Linked DNA regions of Homo sapiens: region 1 is linked to region 2. Evidence: promoter capture Hi-C in 16 types of primary human blood cells and fetal thymus (Javierre and others, 2016). All regions are on one chromosome and are shown on one strand. The core of a region is centred on a gene start or on the middle of the fragment in contact, and the rest is flanking DNA. Distances in the headings are between cores, read along the strand shown. Region 1 overlaps APPBP2 (amyloid beta precursor protein binding protein 2). Region 2 holds the start of MED13 (mediator complex subunit 13).

What was found. Contacts are between HindIII fragments. The CHiCAGO score rates a contact against its expected background, and 5 or more counts as called.
Region 1: a contact is called between a fragment that was not itself captured here and the fragment with the promoter of MED13 in region 2, in 1 of 17 cell types (total B cells). The highest score is 5.2, in total B cells.

The regions. Positions count from the first base shown.
Region 1 is chr17:60,519,372-60,525,948 of GRCh38, reverse strand. It overlaps APPBP2 (amyloid beta precursor protein binding protein 2), which reads left to right. Exons shown (of 13, transcript NM_006380.5): 1 at 1-155. The coding sequence starts at 18. It also overlaps the pseudogene LOC107984970. Among named protein-coding and RNA genes, the nearest start is that of APPBP2, 3.6 kb to the left of the region's middle. RefSeq lists a silencer at 1-17 and enhancers at 98-367, 88-796. The HindIII fragment of the contact is 1,064 bases long and covers 719-1,782 here.
Region 2 is chr17:62,061,840-62,068,407 of GRCh38, reverse strand. It overlaps MED13 (mediator complex subunit 13), which reads left to right and starts at 3,130. Exons shown (of 30, transcript NM_005121.3): 1 at 3,130-3,268; 2 at 5,107-5,341. The coding sequence starts at 3,203. RefSeq lists silencers at 2,340-2,419, 3,210-3,489 and enhancers at 2,470-2,729, 3,640-3,739. The HindIII fragment of the contact is 3,767 bases long and covers 2,355-6,121 here.

The DNA of each region.
Region 1 (6,577 bases), core at 1-2,500, 1.5 Mb after region 2:
AGGAGGAGGGAAGGAAGATGGCGGCCGTGGAACTAGAGTGGATCCCAGAGACTCTCTATAACACCGCCATCTCCGCTGTCGTGGACAACTACATCCGCTCCCGCCGAGACATCCGCTCCTTGCCCGAGAACATCCAGTTTGATGTTTACTACAAGGTATGCGCCGTGGGCCTCCTCTCTGCTCTCCTCCAGCAACCCCGGGGGCCGCACCCCCTTCCACGTCTGCGAACCCCCGCAGTTAACCCCTCACCCCTTCCGGCAGACTTGCCTCCCGAAACGTCTGGTGCGGTGTCTGCATTGCCAGTGGAGAAGCACCCCATCTCCCTATGCCCTGTCTCTTAAGCTTTGGGGCCTTGAAGTAATCTTGGGGAGTCTTGCTCCCTGTTGGTGTTCCCTTCTACACAGTGGCCCTCTTGGGTAGGCCTTTTGCGTGGACTTACTCTATCGCGCCCCTGTCCCACCTAGTCCTTTCCTTCTAGCCCGTATCTTCAGGATATTTTCCATCCTCTCCTTCCAATTAAGTGTCAGCATCAGCTGGACTTTTTTCCGTGCTCCTCCCCCCACCCATTCCTACTTTCTCATCTCGCCGCCTTCCTTCCCCGAGTGTTTTGGTGTTTTTGCTTCGTGTTCCTTCGTTTCTCCTTTCTTTTCCCAATTGGGAAGGAGTTAGGGATTATTGGAAATAATCTGTGTGTTTTATTTGCATATTCTTTAAAGCTTTGATTTTTTTGTGGGAGAGGAGGGGCTCTATACTTGAATTAGGGATTTTGTGAAAATGGGAGTGCTGATCAACTGTTTGAAGAGGACAGGGAGAGATCTTTACTGAAAGAAAAAAACACTTTAGATTATGTTCCTGTGTTTGAAAGTTGCAATCTTGCAGCATTCTTAAATCACTCCCCCTCAAAAATCTGAACAGCAAGTCTCCCAAGCCACTCTCCAAGGAGTTTCAAGGGTAAGTGTCCTTAGATGTGGACTATTTTTGCAGTGTTTTCAGAGTGTGGAGAACTTTATGGACTCAGAGCCTGCCCTTTTCTCTCCCCCACATTTGAATGTGAACACTGGATTTATTATTCAGTCTTCCTTGTCTTGAATCCGCGTCGATAACTCCTAGTGTCCAGTAGCCACCCATGCAAAATGTGACTAAAAGTAGAATGTAATTTATTTTTTAGACCTTAAATACTTCCTCTTGATCTGTAAGTTGGCTGGAACAGTGTAAACTGATATTTTAACAGATGTTTATGTTCTTACGTATGTACAGTGTTTTGTGGCAGTTGTTTTATTGGGAAGATTGCCTGCTTTCTCCACCCCTAGATTTTTTTTTTTTTTTTTTTTTTTTTTTCAGAATTAGCAGTTGATGGGCTGCGTTCTACTAAATCCAGCTGCTTTGCACCAATTCTAACAATTAAAGTGGGGTTTCCCCCCTAAATATTTGGAGAAGATTCATTTAGGTCATGCGTATTATTATTTTGGATTTCGAGAAAAAGCTCCCTTTTTTCCTAATCCCTTTGATACATTGATTTACTTTTGTGTATTCTAAGGAAATTTTGTTCATTTAAGATACATTCCTCCCCAGGAAGGACAAATTAGATTTGTCTTTCTCAGCCTGGGAAACTGCAGCTTTGTGTGTGCTCTCTGTCCATTTTATTAAATCATGTGTAATCTTGTACCTCATATGTAATCTCTCAGAGGAAATCATTGGGAATGTAATCCAAGTGTATTTACTAGTTGAATTCGTTCAAAATACTTGAATATCTTTTAGTAACTTTCACTTCTAATTGAAGCTTTTCATTTGAAGATTATTAGTATGAATAGATGGTGCTTTTGTTAGAATTTCTGTTTCACATAGTTCACACAGTTTTAATATTGCTCCTTTTTGGTACACTTTTACTTCTTAATAGTTGTATGCTTATTGGGAGTATGGCACTGTGCTAAGATGAGGGAAGTGTTAAACATGTGCCTGTAACTATGTTGTGCTTTTATGTGTTATTTTGTTTAATCTTCAGAATTAAACTGTGAAGTAGAGTACAGTATAACCTTGCTTTATTGGTGAGAAAGTTAAGTAATTTAATTAAGGTCTCAAACCTGATATTTAGTTCCTGAGTTCCTTGCTCTTTTACTTAGATATCTATCTTAAGATAGTAGATTATTTTAATGAAAGATATTATAACACTAATTTTTTTATTAGCTTCTATGGAAGTGGAGTGAAAGTCAGTCCCAGGACTCTATTCTAATCTTTAATGGAGATGTAAGAAGAAATTATTCTTTTTATTAAAATTTAAAAAAAATAGAGATGGGGTCTCGCTGTTTTGCCCAAGCTGGTCTTGAACTCCTGGGCTCAAGCTATCCTCCTGCCTCAGCCTACTGAGTAGCTGAGACTACAGGCATATGCCACCGCACCTGACTTTTCTTCCTTTTAAACACTATTAGCATATACATATAAGAAACTTTTTTTGTGGAGACAGGATCTTGCTCTGTTGCCCAGGCTGGAGTGCAGTTGTGATCATAGCTCACCGCAACCTTGAACCCCTGGGCTTAAGCAGTCTTTCCATCTCAGCCTCCTGAGTAGCTGGAACTACAGGTGTATGCCACCCATGCCTAGCTAATTTTTTTTTTTTTAATTTTTAGTATAGATGAGGTCTTGATATATTGCCCAGGCTGGAAAAACTTTTTAAAGCAATATAACTGCACACATAAATATAAGATACTCACCCCCTGCCCAACTTGTGAAAATTTTAGGAGGCTTACTGTTTCCAATTTCCAATTTTCTGCACTTTAAAGCCAAGGAGAAACTCATAATTACATCTCTCTTGCAGTCCAAATTTCCATCAGTAGGCATAGTCATAGACAAAATTGGAGTATTTGTGGAATCAAATTTCCCCATTCTGCTTGTTTGGTGTACTACAGTATGACTGTGTTAATTTTTGTAATAGCTTCAGATAAAGGCACAATCGTAAAGCATTAGGAGATGGGGTTATGGAATGAATGGAAGGTAAAGAAGCAGGAATGTTGACTGCTGTATAAGCAGGGAAGGGAGAGCATAGAAAGGGTAAAATATGAAATGTTTTTTCTTTTTTTTAAAAAAAAAAAAGAATGGAAGACACTAGAATATATTTGTTGGCTGAGTGGCAGAAACCAAGAGAATGAGGTTGAGTATCCAAGTGTGGTGGGAAATAAGTTACGGAGCAAAGTCCCTGAGCAGGAACATGAGTTGATGAGTCTTGCCTGTTTTTGGTCTTTCCTCCTTCACCGTGCATAAATTAAGGTATTATCCTTATATTGGAGTTGGGGAAAGAACTCTTCTTCTAAGATCAGAACAAAAGAATTAAAGATGTAAAGGCGCAGGGCTCACACTCATAATTCCAACACTTTGGGAAGCTGAAGCAGAAGGATCGCTTGAGCACAGGAGTTCGAGACCAGCCTAGGCAACATAGACCCCTTCTCTACAAAAAGTAGAAAAAGTTATCCAGGCATGGTGGTGCATGCCTGTCATCCCAGCTACTCGGGAGGCTGAGGTGAGAGGATTGCTTGAGACCAGGAGGTCAGAGCCTGCAGTGAGCTGTCATTGTGCCACTGCACTCCAGCCTGGGCAACAGAGGGAGATCCTATCTCAAAACAAAACAAGTCGTTAATATAGGTAAGTTTGTAAGAATGATTGTCATGAATTAGGAGGTGAGTTCATTTGCTGCGGGTAAGTGATAGGAGTGGTAGCTTTTATACAGGAAGTCTAAACAGAAGTTGGGAATGTCTACTGAGGTGTATGAGAAGGGAAGGTGACTAAAAATGTGTAAAAGAATAGTTAATAAAAATCAGAACCCTACACAATACAGTCATGTGTTGCTTAATGACGGGGATATGTTCTGAGAAATGCATTGTTAGGCGATTTCATGCTTGTGGGAACATCAGAGAGTGTATTTACACAAGCCTAGATGGTATAGTCTACTACACACCTAGGTTATGTGGGATAGCCTATTGTTCTTAGGCTACAAACTCATATAGCATGTTACTTTACTGAGTACCGTAGGCAGTTGTAACACAGTATTAAGTGCTTGTGTATCTAAACCAGGGGTGTCCAATGTTTTGGCTTCCCTGAGCCACATTGGAAGAAGATAAATTGTCTTGGGCCACACATAAAATACAATAACGATAGCTGATAAGCTGAGGAAAAAAAAAATCTCATAATGTTTTAAGAAAGTTAACGAATTTCTGTTGGGTCTCATTCAAAGCTGTCCTGGGGGCTAGGTGCAGTGGCTCATGCCTGTAATCCCAGCTCTTAGGGAGACAGAGGTGGGAGGATAGCTTGAACTCAGGAGTTCGAGACCTGCCTGGGCAATAAAGCGAGACCCCATTCTTCACAAAAAGAAAAAAAAAAGTGTAACTGAAAGCTGACCTGGGCCACGTGTGGCCCGCTGGCTGTGCATTGGGCAAGCTTCATCTAAACATGGAAAAGGTACAGTATAAAAGATAAGAAATGGTACACCTGTATAGGGCACTTACCGTGAATGGAGCTTTTAGGACTGGAAGTTGCTCTGGTAAGTCAGTGAGTGAGTGGTGAGTGAATGTGAAGGCCTAAGACATCACTGTACACTACTGTAGATGTTATAAACAGTGTATACTTAGACGACTATAAATTAATGTTAAAAATAAAGTAATTCAACTACAATGTCTCTAGGCAATAGGAACTTTTTGGCTCTATTATAATCTTATGGGGCCACCTTTTTATATGCAGTCGGTTGTTGACTGAAACTTTATGTGGCATGTGATCATAATGCTTGGATTCTGAAAGTTTTCTCTCCAAGGGCGTGCAACCATTTTGGTATAAAAGCAGGTAAGATGAAGTGAAAGAATTGTGAGGCAGATGGAGTGATATATGCCTGTAGTCCCATCCTAGCTACTCAGGAATCTGAGGCAGGAAGATGGTTTGAGCCCAGAAGTTGGAGGTTATAGGGTGCTAGCTGCGGTCGTGCCTGTGAATACTGCACTCCAGCCTGGGCAACACAATTATCTCTTAAAAGAAAATTCTAGAACTCTATACAGAGTGAAAGGAAATAGAGACGGGGCTGTGTTCTTATTCTAAAGAATGAAGTTTATGGCCAGGTGTGGTAGCTCACACCTGTAATCCCAACAGTTCGGGAGGCTGAGCCGGGAGGATCTCTTGAGTCCAGGAGTTCAAGACTGGCTGGGGCAATGTAGTGAGACTCCATCTCTTTAAAAAAATGAATGAAGTTTATGATCTTTTTATTTTAACTACTGAAGGTCTATTTTGTGTTTTTTCCAAATACAAAGTGTGCCGTAGAGTTAAACTTTGTCTGGGTGAAGTGTTTCAGCAGTGTGTTCTATGTATTGTTTTCACAATCTTAATTTTTTTTTTTTTTTTTTTTTAACAGAGTCTTGTTCTGTTGCCTGGGCTCGAGTGCATAGGCACAATGTCGGCTCACTGCAACCTCTGCCTCCTGGGTTCAAGTGATTCTCCCGCCTCAGCCTCCCAAGTAGCTGGGATTACAAGCACCTGCCACCACATCCAGCTGATTTTTGTATTTTTAGTAGAGATGGGGTTTTACCATGTTGGCCAGGCTGGTCTTGAACTCCTTACCTCAGGTGATCTGCCTGCCTCGGCCTCCCGAAGTGCTGGGATTACAGGAGTGAGCCACTGCGCCCGGCCTCCTTAATGATTTTTTTAAAAATTAAAGTATTATGCTGAAAAGAAAAAACAAAATAAAAATAAATACCATGCTGAAAACCATACTAATTAGGTTCTGATTTAGGATCGGAGTTAATTTTTTCTTTTTCTCTGTATATTTCAGTTGTATAGCTACATACAGCCTGAACTAACATTCAGTTTTCTGAGAATTTAAAAAAATACACTGATGGCCGGGCATGGTGGCTTATGTCTGTAATCTCAGCACTTTGGGGCCATGGTGGGAGGATTTTGCTTGAGTCCAGGAGTTCGAGACCAGCCTGGGCAACATAGTGAGATCCCATCTCTAGAACAAAGAAAAAAATTAGCCATGTGTGGTGTTGCATGCCTGTAGTCTCAGCTACTCAGGAGGCTGAGGCAGGAGGATTGCTTGAGCCCAGGAGGCTGAGGTTGCAGTGAGCTGTCATTGCATCACCGTACTCCAGCCTGGGTGACAGGGTGAGACCTTGTCTCAAAAAAAAAAAAAAAAAAAAAAATTAAATTTGGCTACTAAAATTATAAAAGTATCAGAATAAATTATTGGGTCAATATTTTGCAGTGGGAAATGACCAAAATTTCTTCTTTAAAGAAATTGTTTTTCTTTCTTTTTTAAGAGACAAGTCCTCCTTCTGTCTCCCAGGCTGTAGTGCAGTGGCATAATCATATCTCACTGCAACCTTGGACTCTTGGCCCCAAGTGATCCTCCTGCCTCATCGTCCCGAGTAGCTAGGACTACAGATGCTTGCCACCACACCTGGTTAATTAAAAAAAAAATTTTCTCCTTTCTGTAGGAGATAACAACAAAAAAAACCTTAAAAATTTTTTTTTTGTAGAGACCGACCGTATCTCACTTTGTTGCCCAAGCTGGTCTTGAACCTTAGCCTCAAGCAGTCTTCCCACCTCA
Region 2 (6,568 bases), core at 1,881-4,380:
CCTCGGCCTCCCAAAGTGCTGGGATTACAGGCGTGAGCCACTGCACCCGGCCTCCATTACTCTTTAAATCACACAAAATGTCATTTTTACCGAATGTAAGTGGTTACTGATACGTTCTTTGTGGGCTGAAAATATTTATTTCTTCTCTTTCCCTTCTCCCAATGATTCCATTCCCCTCACAACTGGGATCCCCCCCATTCTAATCTGCTTCTCCATTCTCTCAGTCCTGTCTTTCTCTCTCTCTCCTGCTCCCTTCTGCGATCCTCCATCAGACTTTTTCTTCTGGGTCTTCCTCCCTTCTTCGCTTCTGTCTCCTTGTCTCCCTCTTCTTTTTGAAAAGATTGACATTCAAACAGAAAGGTCAATCAAATGTTACCTCCTACTGGTAGGTTTCAGGTATATTCTACCTGCCATTGGAATCCTGAGGATGGTGCTCAAGTCAGGGGGTGGGGGCAATGGGAGGGCAAGACTTCTAAGGAGAATGGAGACCCCTTTAGATGTGAGGAGGGCATTTCAGCCTGAGGAAAGCAGCGGAACAAAGATCTGAGGAGTTTTTCAGGGAACGGGAAATGGGCAGAGGAGCGCTTACCTCATTGGATCTGGGGATTGCTGTCTCCTGGTGCTGGCACTCGGTTATAAAGGATGCCAACCTTAGTTGATTTGAGCTCCTGGATTGAATTAGTCCTGGTTGCATAATTGACTTTGATATGTGGACTTTGGGTTCGAATTAGGTTTAATAAGATTTAACTGCTTCAAAGGGCTTTATAAGAATTCATTTTATCCTTCAAATCTGATTTCAAATGCTACCTACTTTATGACAACTTCTCTAAGTTTGATGCTCTTCTTCTAGTGCACTTACTATGCCATAGTAGGTACATACTTTATTCAAGCAATTACCCCCATTGTATTTTACCTTATTCTGTAGGAAATGTTTCCTTTAGTGCCTCTCTTCAGGAATCTTGAGGGACAGGCAGGTATCTTATTCCTATTTGTATCCTAGGCCTAGCACAGAGCAGGAACACACTCAATTGAGCCAGCAGGTTCTCAATGATTTTTAAAATTACATTAATAATTAACATTAAGTAAGCACTGTGGCAAGCACTGTATCTACATTGTTTCATTCACCAGTCATTTTAGAAGAAAAGTACTTTTATTACCCCCATTTTACAATAACCGAGAGAAAGCAAAATTAATTTGATCTAAGGTCAAATATGATCTAAGACTAACTAGTGAGGGGCAGAACTTTTTCTCCAGGCTTTGGGCTTCAGATCTGGGCTCTTCACCACCACAGATGAACAAGTGGATAAATGAGGACTTCTTTTCATTCCGTGGCTGAAGAAGTGACATGGAAGAGTCTACCATTCATTTTACAGATACAATTATGTATCTGTAATACATAATACATAATTATGTATCTGTAATACATAAAATTACAGTAAGTCCTAACTCACTGATGTTTCTAACTTCTGAATCATCTTTTTCTTCTTCTTTCTTTCTTGCAATCCTAAAACCGTCAGAGAAACTGTTTTGAACTCATATTGAAGTGTAACCCATCCAAGCACTGGGTGTTTTATGGGAAAGAGAATAAACCTTTTGTTTGGTTCTTACTTCTTACCACCCATTCATTTGTAACTATACAAATATCAAGCACCTACTGTGTGCTAGGAACCTTTTTTTAGGCACTAGAGAGACAGAAGTAAACAACAAAAAAATAGTGAGACCTTTACATACACTAGTTCTCCTGCTCGTCACAATAACTATATGAGGTAATGATGACAACAATAATAGTTAACTCTTAACAGTGCTTATCTGTGCGGGGCACTGGGCTACCTGCTTAATTTGTATTAACTCATTACAATAAGCTTGTGGGGTAAGGGATATGTTTTCCCCATTTTACAGATGAGTAAAGACACAGAGCAGGAAGTGATTTGCTCAAGCTTGGAACCCAGGCAGTGTGGCTCTAATTCCCAGTCTATTAACTACAGGGCAATATTTTGTTTCTTAAATTTATATCTTCATATCACAACTTTTAGGTTGAGGAGTCTTATCCCCATCCAGATCATCTGACTCCCAAATCCAGAGGTTTGCACCTGCACCCCAGCGGCCTCGCGAAATAAATGAGAATGTCTTGGAATTTTTGCCAATACTTTCTCTTCCAAAGAACTCAAACTGATTTCCACGTAATTCTCACTGATTTGTGAAATGAACCTTCCTGGACTGTAAATTTCCCCGCAAAGAGAGGGCCAGGGCCCCGGGTCGTTTTATACTGGCCGGGGCACCCAGCAGATGGCGCTATGTTAGTGGCCACCAGCTGGCTGCCCCGTCCCCCGAGCTCACCGCCTCCGCCGAAAGCTTCCCGGCCCTCCCTCGCTCACTTCTCTCTCCCCCTCCCAACCGAGCCCGGGCCCACGTGACCTCAAGGCGGCCAATGGGTGAGCAGAGAGGGCGAGCTGGTCCCTGTGGCCGCCATTAAAGCGAAGGGAAAACCCGTGAATTCGGATTAAAGGGGGAAAAACACCGCCCGCTGGGCCCACAAAATGGGGGAGACTACGGCGTCCAGCCGGTGAGGCCACAGGAGGGCAAACTTTAGGCCGGCTTGGCCCAGGAACGACACGAAGACAGAGCCAGAGAATGGTCTGAGCCCGCAGACGCCGCCACCACCTCCGCCGCTGAGGAGACTCTGGGCTTAAGGACATCGCCGCTGCCGCGCCGGGGGCCTGGGCTTCTCTCCCGGTTCTCGCCCTTCCCGCTCCTGTGCGGGCGCCTCTCCGCCCGGGAGAACCGTCCTGGGCTTGGGCTCTGCCGTCTCGGACTTGATTTTGATTATTTATTGTGTAATTTATTATTTTTCTTGTGGTAGGGGCACACATCCCCTCCGTCCCCCAGAGAGGGACGAGCGTCTGCGGGATCCGCAGTCCGGCCCGCCAGGCGAGCGCGGCGCGGCCCTCCCGCCTCCGGCCCTCGGCCCCGGGCGGCTGGGTGCCGGCCGGGCGGCGGGGGCTGCTCGCGGCGGCGGCGGCGGCGGCGGCGGCGGGGGGGTGGGTGGGGAGGGCGGGCGCCCGGCGGCCTCCTCTTCCACCGCCCCCCCAACCACTACCCCCCCCCCGGCCCTCCCCGGTGTCTGTGTTTCTCTCTCTGGTCGGAGGCGGCGGTAATGGCGGATGGTGGGTTGTGGCGCCGGCGGCGGCTGCTGTGAGGGACGATGAGTGCCTCCTTCGTGCCGAACGGGGCCAGCCTGGAAGATTGTCACTGTAACCTCTTCTGCCTGGTGAGTGCCGGGGCCGGCGGGCGCCGAGGGAGGGGGGCCGCGAGGTGCGCCCTTGGGCCGTGGGGGAGGGGGCCGGGTCTGGTCCAGATGCCCGAGTTCCCGGGCGAGGCCCAGCCGGAGCCGGCGCCCTGCGAAGCTCCGCGGCCAGCCCCGGGAGGCGGCGTTCGCTCTCCTACGGTCCCGGGCTCTGTTTAGGGGAGTGTTGGCATTTTTTCTCGTCTTGTTTCGGACTCTCCTTCTCACCGTAGTCTCGTCCTCAACTTGAGCTCCTTATCTGGCAGGACAGTAACCTTTCCCTCTTGTCTTGCTTAACTGTTGCTTTTCTCCTTATTGGCCCTGTATCCCTGCTTCACACTTTACATTATTGCCCCTGCTCCCCACCGCCTTTATGTCTTACCCTTTTAATTTGGTTTCCCCATGTAAACAGGACCCCAGAACTTAAGCCCTAGAAACCTGTCTTGGTTTTACATTTTTTTTGTATGAGTCAAACTAACGCCAGGTTAGTTTCTTTCTTGGGTGACTTAAGATCTCTCTGTAAAAGCCAGTAGGTGCCATTTCATATGTTTTCTTTTTAAACTTTGAAAACAGTTTGCCATTTTTGACAATTTCTAGCCATCTTGCTTTTATTAGAACATGATGTTTTTGTGAGAGTGAAGGGGGCTAGTGGACGAGGTGCTGTGGTTTTGCACTGTTTCTATATTTATTGTGTTTTGGTTGCTTTTTCAGAATGTTTTGAGCAGGCTGCTCCCTTGTTTGATTGAAATGGAAAGTCGAGAGAAGCGGGATGTAGGGATGATCATTGTGTAGGTTAGCCCAGGTCTGGTAACATCCAACAGTTAAGGCTTTCAGAAGTACCAACTGTTGCAAATAACTTGTCCTGTATGGGACAGTAGCTGAGCTTCATCAATGACTTTAAGTTTGGGTGACTTTACTTTTTCATTTTCTCCTTTGTGCTATGAGAAATATTAAGAGTATATGATAGGTAAGTGAGTTAAGTGGGAGGAGCACAACTAGTTGGCAAGTGTAAACTGCCAGTCATGTATCAGCAGTTTCATTTTTGGCACCTTATGCTTTGCTCCTTTAAGTTAGATTAAATTACTGAATTCCTCTTGTCGAATTTCTTAACGCCCATGCTAAATTGAGATCTTTAATACTCTATCCTCGTCTACAGTATGTTTTTCTTTTCAATGTCCATTAATCAGCATCTCTTCACATGTAATAAGACATACACCAGGTTTTATATTTCTATCTTATCCAACTCAGTCTATTTTTGGTACTTTTAGGATCAGTTCTTTGAAGATAGACTAGCACAAATCTGACAGTTCTTTGTGAGTAGCTATTTGACTTTTCCGACAGGGGTGTGTGTGAAGAATTAACATAGATTTTTTCAGAACTTGTTCAGATGTCTTTTCATTAGAGACGTTACTTCTGTAAATGTGGAATAAAAACCCATGATAGGGTCTTTAATAATTGATTTTCAGTTAAAAGTTTGACACCAGTGAACAAATGTGACCAGTTAGGACAGAGAAAAATGTACTCTGTTTGCATATTGAAGTGTGTGTCTATATTTAACATCATTCAGTTTCTTCTGTTTCTACTTGGAGTACATATTTGCTTGCTATTCAGTGACATGGTGGTGGTAATTTTTAACTGTATTCTTCTCCCTAAAATTCTTGGTTGTTGAATTATAAAGTCTTTTTTTGTTCTAATTTGCAGTCAATATCTCAAGCATACATTGAAAAATTGTAATGTCTTAATGAAATAAGAGACATCATATTGAGTACTTTTGACTTTGAGTGAATATGCAGTAATAAAACTTAATGCTTTCTTTCCTTCAGGCTGACTTGACAGGAATTAAGTGGAAAAAATATGTATGGCAAGGCCCAACTTCTGCCCCTATTCTGTTTCCTGTGACAGAAGAAGACCCCATTTTGAGCAGTTTTAGTCGCTGCCTTAAGGCAGATGTACTTGGTGTTTGGCGGCGAGATCAAAGACCTGGAAGAAGAGAATTGTGGATATTTTGGTGGGGTGAAGACCCCAGTTTTGCTGACCTTATTCACCATGACTTATCAGGTGAAAGAAACTTTCCATTTCTAACTAATGATATAGCAACATTGTATACTTCTCCCAGAATGTCATATGTATTACAAATTAAGTTTGTTTTTGTGGGAGACTTAGGAGGCCAGATAAAAATTCAGCTTCATTGTTTTATTTCACCATGATTATTTTATTTTACTTAAATTATCCATGTTGTTATAGCTGGGTTTTTAAGGCGTGAATGACTTTCTCCTTCCACCACCTCTCTTCTTAATTTCTCACAGGTAGTTAGGGCCCGAAGAAGGCATGTTACATTAATCTAAAAAAATGGAATCAGGAAACAGAGTTCCTAACAAAGTCGTGTAATAGTTTAGAAGCCAGATGTAACTTTTGAGTCACTTCAGCCACTGCTGAAGTTGAGTCTTTTGCATTGAATAGGCAGATGATTCTAAAAGTACTGGAAATGTAACTATCCGTGTGTGTGTGTGTGTGTGTGTGTGTGGTGTGTGTGTGTGTGTGTGTGTTTTAAGGCATGTATTTTGTTATTGTCATTTGTGCTATTTGATTAACTTATGAAGGCATATGTTAATTTAGTTATTTTTGGAAAGTGACTCATATACTGTTCTGTCAAACATAATAAGAGAAAAGTGCCAACTTGTTTAGCTTTTATGGGACATGGGATCATAATCTAAAAGGTTACACAAACAATTTTATTGTGAGCAAATCAATGTGATTACTTCCTTATTTTCTTGACTTTTAGGACCAAATGCTACTTTAGAAAGAGAAACTATAGCTTTTCATATAATTACTGAAGCTTTAAATTGTGAAAGTCAGTATTAACTGAATCTTAGATAATAGGAATATAAATGATTGGTTGTATGCTATAAGGTTCCAAAGACTTCAGTAAGATAGTTTGATAATGATTTTTGACAGATAAACTTAGGATTTCTAGATAATTTTTTTTAAGTTCTTATTTGAAATTGAGTACTCTGAAGTTTTTGTTATTGTATCTCTGACCTATAGGATCTATTTTATTTTTGGATAGAATGTATTCTAGGTGTCTGTATCTTGAACTGGTACTTAGTAAGACCAACATTTATGTAGGAATGTACGTGTTACATTTGTATGTTTTGATAATTGCTTTTCACATTCTAATGAACATACTCTCCAGTGTTAATTGTTATTTTTGAGAGTGACTGCAATTCTTCAAGAAAGCTTTCCAGCTTTTGTAGTTTTTCTAATAAGATGCCTGCTGCAGAGTCC